2 separate regions of the Homo sapiens genome follow, and region 2 is linked to region 1. Evidence: promoter capture Hi-C in 16 types of primary human blood cells and fetal thymus (Javierre and others, 2016). All regions are on one chromosome and are shown on one strand. Each heading gives the region's core, a stretch centred on a gene start or on the middle of the fragment in contact. The rest is flanking DNA. Distances are from core to core; before and after follow the strand shown. Region 1 holds the start of LINC02907 (long intergenic non-protein coding RNA 2907). Region 2 overlaps COL5A1 (collagen type V alpha 1 chain).

What was found. The method cuts DNA at HindIII sites, captures the fragments that hold promoters and counts their contacts. A CHiCAGO score of 5 or more calls a contact.
Region 2: a fragment that was not itself captured here is called in contact with the fragment with the promoter of LINC02907 in region 1 in 1 of 17 cell types (monocytes); the score reaches 5.3 in monocytes.

Annotation. Positions count from the first base shown.
Region 1 is chr9:135,341,895-135,345,742 of GRCh38, forward strand. LINC02907 (long intergenic non-protein coding RNA 2907) reads left to right here and starts at 1,355. Exons shown (of 3, transcript NR_171012.1): 1 at 1,355-1,577; 2 at 2,128-2,559; 3 at 3,400-3,848. RefSeq lists an enhancer at 396-1,108. The HindIII fragment of the contact is 15,144 bases long and covers 1-3,848 here.
Region 2 is chr9:134,767,417-134,771,638 of GRCh38, forward strand. COL5A1 (collagen type V alpha 1 chain) reads left to right here. Exons shown (of 66, transcript NM_000093.5): 25 at 994-1,047. LOC124902301 (a long non-coding RNA gene) reads right to left here. Exons shown (of 2, transcript XR_007061843.1): 2 at 3,213-4,222. Among named protein-coding and RNA genes, the nearest start is that of MIR3689C, 80 kb to the right of the region's middle. The HindIII fragment of the contact is 681 bases long and covers 2,633-3,313 here.

The sequences.
Region 1 (3,848 bases), core at 105-2,604:
AGCTGCTCACCTCCCTGCTTTCCTCAGCCTCGAAGCAGCCAGGGCTCCTGGGCAGGGCGCCACAGCAGCCTCTATTTACCCCTCTGTAAAATGGGAAGAAAGTTCTCCCCAGGTGAGGCTGTCTCATGACTAAATCAGACACTCCAAGCTGATGCTCTGAAGCCACAGGTGTCCCTGCATCCCCATCACTAATACTGTCCTCTTTCCTACCATGGACAGGGGGCTCAGCGCCCAGGAAAAGAGCTCCACACTTTTCTAGCATCCCCTCGGGAGCTCTGGTTCCATAGAAGGGGGCTCCCAGTGTCCGATGGGGCTGAGCACAGCATGCAGCTGGGGCCCCCGTGTCCTAGGGATCCGAGAGCACACTGTTGGGCAGCAGCTCCTGGACGGGGCCCACCAGCCTTTGTGCAAACCAAGAAGGAGCTCGTCCCCTGGTACCAGGGCACCCAGCTGGCAAGCACAGGTGGCTGGACCCTGGCTCCCTCATTGGCACCTGCGGGGCCACATCGTGACCTTTGTGGGCCCCAGACACCATTCCCCCTGCACCTGATGGATCCATCGCTTTGCCCAGCCTTGGCTCTCGAGGTGACCTTCAAGGACTGCTGCAAGGACTGCCCCGCCAAGGAGCCTGGCACAGGCTGTTGGACACAACCCCAATTACTGACAGGTTCGCAAAGACACCCAAGCTGCAGGGCCTTGGCAGACGGGTAAGCAGCCTGATCTCGTCCAGAAATCTTGTCCACGTGCACCTCCCGGGAGCCCTCCTTCGGAGATGGCCGAGGCCTGATGCCCCAGAAGTCACTGTGTCCAGCTCCCACCTCTCCTGCCCCTCAACCCCTCAGTTCCTCCCTGGGAACCACCTGTCAGCTGCCCCAGCCTGGATTTGTGTTTTCACCCGGGAGTGACTCGGGGCCTCTGGTGGCCTGGGGAGATGGGGGAGCTTCCTGGGTCCAGGCACCAGCAGTCACCTCTGTCCCCAAGGAAGGCCCTGCCAAAGGGCCGGGCACCAGGTGCTCCACGTTTAGGCCAGGACTAGTTGATGGCTGCCCAGGCTCCCAATGACACATTCCCCTCCTCCGGGGTTGTCCCTGCTGGGCCTCTGTGCCAGCTGACAGCCAGAAGTCTGGTGATCGAGCCCGGTGGGGTCTCTGCCTGGGGAGGGATCCCTGGGTTTTGTCCCCATGCAGTGGGGGCTCAGGAAGTGCCCCCCAGCTTCCTCCTGCCTCTCAGCATTCCCAGCTGCCAGCACAGAGAGGCTGGGCTCAAGTCTTCTCCAAGGCCAGTGCCACCCTCCACCAGGTCCCACTGAGCCTCATGGGGCTGGTGGAGCCACCTGCCCACCTCAGCACTGCATCTCCAGCCAGGGCTGAGTGGCAGTGTGGGCACCGCGGCCCGGGACGACAGCCTGGGCTCAGAGTCAGGCTTGTGGCTTCGCCTCTCAGCTTGCGTCTCCTCCCCTGTGGGATGGGGGATTCCGTGGCACCCCCATGATGAACAGGATGCCATGGGCCTCAGCCCAGGGCAGACCTCAGTGTCCTTCCTGTGGCCGCTGCTGGAGGTGCGTGACCACAACACAGGTGTGTATCGATGTCACTTTGCGTCATGCCTGTGGGGAGGGCCCTCTCGCCCCATGGTCTCCATGGGGCCTCATCACACCTGGGAGGTAACTGGGGCATCTCAATTTTACAGATGAGTAAATGGAGGCTCAGAGCAGTTACAGGCTGAGGCTGAGACCTGGGCAGGTCTTTGTCATCTTGGAGTCCAGCACATACACAGGGCTAGCCTCCAATGGGCTAAAGGGAGCTGCCTCCTATACCTCCCTGTCCCCAGACACACACACAGAACCCCCACATATGCACAAGAGCACACGGCCACAGGAGTGTGTGCAGGTGTGTGCATGCATGCATGCGCATGCACACACATCCTTGCACAGAATGCACAAGGCACACACAGGCACAGGCGTGTGCACACACGTGTACACACACACATGCCTGCATGCATACCTCCCGGCTCCACAGAGGGGAGGGGGCATTTCCCAGGCAGGCTATGCTTCTCCAGCAGTGAGCGAACAAAATCTGTGCTCTGGGTGCCCAGAGCCCGGCAATGAGGGGATCTCACACCCTCCAGGGAGGGGACTCGTCCCCGCCACTGTGCTGACGCCTGGGTCTCCAGAGACCCTCCTGGAACTCCGCCAGGCCTTCCTGGGTTCCAGACAGGCCCGCCACGGGCATGACGCAGCGCCATCTAGCGGACAGCAGGGCTGCAGCGTGGACAGAACGGCCGGACGCCCAGTCCTGGGCTGGCGGCTGAGGAACAGCCTCACAGGGCAAGAGGGCAGGCAACACCTGCATCTTTCCGGCATAAGAACCTCAAGAAAAGCAAAGGAATATAAGCCTGTGTTCTTTGGAGCCACCGAAATCTCTGTTCTCATGGCAGTCGCTGAAAGTTTAAGGGAGCCGCCACCGCCCCAATGGGGTTGGTTTCTTTCTTCCCTGTTTTTAAAGATCTTTTAAAATGTCTAGAGAGACCCTGGGATCCAGTGCTGGACGGATGATGCAGGTTTGTGTGCATTTGGGTTCTTGCCCCACCCTCAGCCTCAGCCACAGCCACAGCATGGCTCCCTGGTGGTCTCGGGAGCAGGTGAACAGGGAGGTCCTGCTGTCGGTGCAGACCCCGCTCTCACGTCAGCCACTTTGCTGGGTAGGAATGAACTGAGACACTGCAGGGCACCCGCTAAGCCCACATCAAGCTCTAATTCCACAGTTATTTTGCAAAGAGGATAATGTTCCCCTGAGGACTCGCTGGATCATCTGCTCTCGGCCAGGGTGGCTGCAGGGCTGTGGGCAGCTGGTGCCTCTAGACAAGACATCTTCACCCCAAAACCCCAGGCCTGAAGTCCCAGGACCCCTTTCTCACCACAGTGACCACCAGGTGGCAGGTCAGGTGCAGAGGGGCCCTCTGCACCCCCAACTCTCAGGGGGATGGGACACCCACCACCCCTCAGGGCCTTCATCCCTCCTGTAAGTAGAGGCTTGCCTTTTGGATACCATGGCAGGGATCTCACATTCATGCCACACAGCAATTCGTGGGGACCTCAGAGATACGCGGGGAGGGCAAACAAGGCCCGCATCTGGAGTACAGCAGCGGGCTTGGCTGGAAGGATGTAAAGGGCACAGGCCGTCTGTCTCTACCCACAGCCCCTAGAGCCTGCAGCGTCGTGCTGCTGGTGAGAAAGACGGCGGCACCATCACATGCGAGAGACAGCTGTCTGTCGAGAGCCTGCTTGGGCTCCCAGGCTCCCTCATCGCCTGACACCCCCACGTGGGGAGGGGGCGATGACCTTTCACGTAGAGGAAGTTGAAAGCTGCTTTTTTCTTTTTGAATCTCATCTCCACTCAGGGCCACACAGAGAGGCTATTGTGTGTCACTTGCTGGGTTAGGAACAGACGGATCAGGGCTTCTATGCTGCGTCTGCCTGGTCCTGGGAGAGAGAAACTCACACAACCATCTGCCTGGAAGACCTGGGCTTCTCAGGCTAGAGGGTCTGCACATGTAGGTGTGTGTGCATGCATACATATGCCTGCGTGTGGATGTCTGTGCTTCACACAAACAAGTGTACTTGTGGGCATATGTGTGTGTGTGCCTGCATGTGCAGCTCTGGGTATGTGTGTGTGCGCATGCCCCTGAGTCTCTCTGCATGTGATGCATTTGTGCATGTGTGTGCCTGTGTGCCCGGGTCTGTGTCTATATATATGCATGCATGGATATGCATACGTATGTGCATTTCTGCACATGTGTGCGTATGCCTGTATGTGCCTGGCTATGTGCACACACATGTGAATGTCTGA
Region 2 (4,222 bases), core at 1,723-4,222, 570 kb before region 1:
CCCTGGGAGGACCCCTGGTATCCACCAGCTCTCAATGTATATCTTGGTGCTCCCAAGAGACGCCAAAGCTCAGAGTGCCAAGAACTGGGCCAGAAGCATGAGGAGGATTTTGGATCCGTGTCTCATTGATTCATACGTTTATTCATTCATTCATTCTCTAGTATGTATAGGGGTTGCTGGATTTAGCAAGGAACAAAAATACAGGACATGCAGTTAAATTTGAACTATTGTGTATCTGAAATTCAAATTTAACCGGGCATCTTGTTTTGTTGTTGTTTATTTTGGTTTAGTCTAGTTTTGCTAAATTTGGCAACTTGACTGTATCTCCAGAGCCTACTGTGTCCTAGGCCCTGGAACGAGAGCTGGAAGTGCTTGCCCTTCTAGAGCTTGTCGCTTAACCAGGCACAAGATAGTTCAGGTAGCTCCAAGTGCCTTGGTTGCGATCAGCAAAAACACCTCCAAGGGGCTGGTTCTGAGTGCATGAGAATCCCCGGGGGGCCTGAGAAACACAGAGGGCTGGGCTGCTGCCAGGCCTGGGACCTTCCAGGAGCTGCTGTTTATGGGATACTGAGGCTGTGGGCCTTGCACTGCAGGATGCCCTGCCCTGCCCTGGGGTGTTGATGTGAACAGACCAGGGAGGACAGGGTGGTGGGAGCACTTGAAGAAGGCACAGCACTGTAAGAGCAGAGGAGGCCAGATGATGCCCCCCCGGGCCCCAGTATGCAGCAGGTGGATGTGGAGAAGAATGGGGGCACTTGGTGGACTGATTCCGTTCCTACAGCAGAACCTGAAGGTGCTGAGAACAGTGGAGCCGCCTCCTCCTGGGCGCTACCGTGGCTGCACGCCTCACAGCCAGGGACCCAGTGCCTCTGACCACACTTCTCAGCAAATGCTGTGTGGGCAGAAATGTTGAAAAGTAACCTTGGTGGCCGACGGAGAGGTCAGGTGAGCCTAGGGAGGGCATCTCCTCATGGAGTCTCTGGTTTGTTCTAGGGTCCCTTGGGGAAACCAGGCCTTCCAGGAATGCCCGGTGCTGACGGACCCCCGGTGAGTAGCCCTGCCCACCTCATCCCTCCATACTCTCCCCACCTCCACCCTGCGGATAGGGCTGCAGGCCCAGGCTCTTTGGGGTTGTTGTTGGACGGCATTGACTCATTCTGGCTCTGTTGATGAAGACCCGTTTGGTCTCCAGTTGGACTGCTCGGTCATTCTTGGGTTCTGGACACCCTTAACATCATGGATTTTAATCAACGAGTGGCGATTGCGCGAGTAGGAATATTAGCTATTTATTAGGTTGTGCTGATTAATTACCGGAAGTCAGGCCTGCGTGCTGAGCCGTGAGGAGGGCTGGGCCGGGCTCCAGGCCATCGCTTGCGTCCCCAGGGTTGGAAGCGAAGAGGCAGGGTACGTGGTGTGTATTTTTAGTGTTCACACACTGAGAAGGGAGGTGGTGAGCAAACGCGTTTGCAGTGTGTGCGCGCACAGCTGTGGAGCCAAATTAGATTCTGCCTGGAAATAGCGAGTTGGTGACAAATCCAATCTGTGTCTAAGCTGTGTGGAGGGGGGAGGTGTGAGGAAGTAGAACACACTCAGAATGCGTGCGTGCGTGCACACGTGCGTGTACATGAGTGTGAGCTGATTTGCACCCACACCCTCTGTAAGTGCCTGCTGTGGTTTTGGTTTTGATTATTCCGTTAATGCTGAGTCTGTTTCACAAACGAGATTAGCAGAATTAATTATTGAAGATGCAGTATGCTTTATGGTTTTAATAACACTGTTAAAAACTAAACAAGGAAGTTAAATATGTTGATGATTATCGGTGACTGCTCACCACACAGCATCCCTCAGGCCGAGTCAGTTGGCCCAGTGACTCCCACATCACAAACTGCCCTTTCTTGGTCAGAAGAAGCAGAGTGGAGCCTTCTCATCCCCACGCGCGCAGCTGTGGGGCCCCGTGGTCACCTGGCCACATGGGAGTTTGCATACTGAGTGGTTCATCTTTTCCAATGTGTTGTGTCCTTTAATTTACATTTATATTTCATTGCCCTTTCTAATGATCAGAACAGCACATCTTGTTATAGAAAATTAGGAAAATAAATAAAATTACAGTAAAATTATAGCCACCTTTGATCTCATCTCCTGATTTAGCCATTGACAGCGGGTGGACGTGTGTCCTTCCAGGCTAGTTTTCTGTTCCCGTGCTGCTGGCTGTGGTGTCCATGGAGTATGGGCCGCAATCTGTGGGGACAGTGGCTGGGCCCAGAGCCCTGCGGGGAGGAAGGGGACCTGGGTGTGAAGCAGGCCACACGAGGAAGGGGGGCCTGGGTGTGAAGTGGGCTGTACCCCTCTTTCCTTCTGCGGGGAGGAAGGGGGCCTGGGTGTGAAGGTGGCTGCACCCCTCTTTCCTTCTGCGGGGAGGAAGGGGGCCTGGGTGTGAAGGGGGCTGCACCCCACCTTCCTGCCAAGATCATTCTCTCGGCCCTCAGCTGACCTAACTTGTTCTCCCTGGAATTCCCCTCCCCATGTTGAAACCTCCAAAGAATTGGGGTCCCTAAAGAGCCTGCAGTTTCCTTTTATATTCTTTGGGGGAAGGAAAGGCCTTTAAGGTGTCCCTTCCCCAGCCCGAATTTAAAGCTTAAAATGTGAGCGTAGGTGGACCCCATTCACATGAAGGTGCTTCGAGCAAAAGGAAGCAAAGGGTAGGCCCAAAGACAGCCCCAGCCATCTCCCACGAAAATCTGGAGGAAAGAAAAGATGTTTAAAAATTCTCCTTTGCAAAGGCAGCACATTGAGGGTAAACCCTACAGAGAGAGTTTTCTTTTTTTCTTGTTTTGGTTTTGGTTTCAAAGAAAGGAAGATTGCCTTAAAATCCATCAAGAGGTATGAGGCACTTCAGAGCAGACTCAGTGCCTAGAAATATGTTGTTGAATAAATCCTGATAGCACACGCTGGGGAAATGGCTAAGTGAATTATGGCTCAGTGGAATATATTCCTGGTATCACACGCTGGGGAAATGGTTAAGTGAATTATGGCTCAGTGGAATATTACAGAGCCAGTAAGAATTGAATTTAGACAAATACTCCGTGACATGAGAAAAATGCTCACAATGTAATATTAAATTAAAAATAGATCTACCATGCCAAGGGCGCATGCATATCTGCAGAGACGACAGATGATTCTATCATACAATTAGCCACAGCCACTCCGAGTGGTGAGGTGATGAAGGATTTTAATTCCTCTTCCAGTTGCCTAATTGTCTATGATGAACATACGTTACTTTTTTAATCAGAAAATATCAAATACAAATAATGTAAGCTTTATTATTTTCCCATTACAGAAGCACTGCTCATTATAGAATATTGGGAAACACACACAAGTAGAAAGAAAGGGGAAAGCGGCCCTGCCCGGCTTTGCAGGAAAATCAGTCGTGGTTATCTTGTTACGTTTCCTTTCTGCCTTTTCCTGTTCAAACATTTTTTAGTAAGGGAGCTTTGTGCTTCCCCCCACTGCTTTACTCTCATTCTCTATCTGTAACTGAAAATATACCTAAAGGAATTTGGCCTGGATGGGAATGGAGGCCGCCGTGATGCCGGCCGCTAACTCTGCTTGGTGCTCCCTGGGTGGGCGCAGTTCTGAGCCCCTTGCAAACGCTCTGTGCGTCTCCGCAGCGGCGCTGTGTGCAGATGTGCTGTTATCTCCAGCCTGGAACTGAGGAAATGACCACGTGGAGAGGCCTGGGGGCTTCCTCGAGCAGCCGGGGCTGGGTCTGCCCGGTCCAGAGCCGGGCTCTCGGCCCCCCTGCAGATCCACCCACTAGGTCCTTCACAGAAAGGTGTCTGTGGCTGATAGAAAGTGTAATAAAGGGCCACAAAGAACCCCTCCTGGCCACCCTGGACCAGGACACCCTCTAGTTGGCTCTGTTCAGGTCCAGCCCGGCCACTCTGAGGTGCTGGCGCCATGAGCCTTGTTTCCGGAAGGCGGCGTGGTGGCCAAGCACGTCCCCTCCCAGCTGGAGCAGCGGGTGAGGTCCCGCAGGTGCCTGGACTTCCTCAAAGCCTCCCTCAAGGGGAACTTTGCGCCCTCCCACTCACTTGCTGCTAGGATAGGCTGTCTGCTAGGATAGGCTGTCTGCAAAGGCATCAAACCCAATTGGACAGCTAATAAAAACTTAAAAGTCACACACGAACCATTTAATTGAGGCAACGAGACTTGGGTCTTCTTA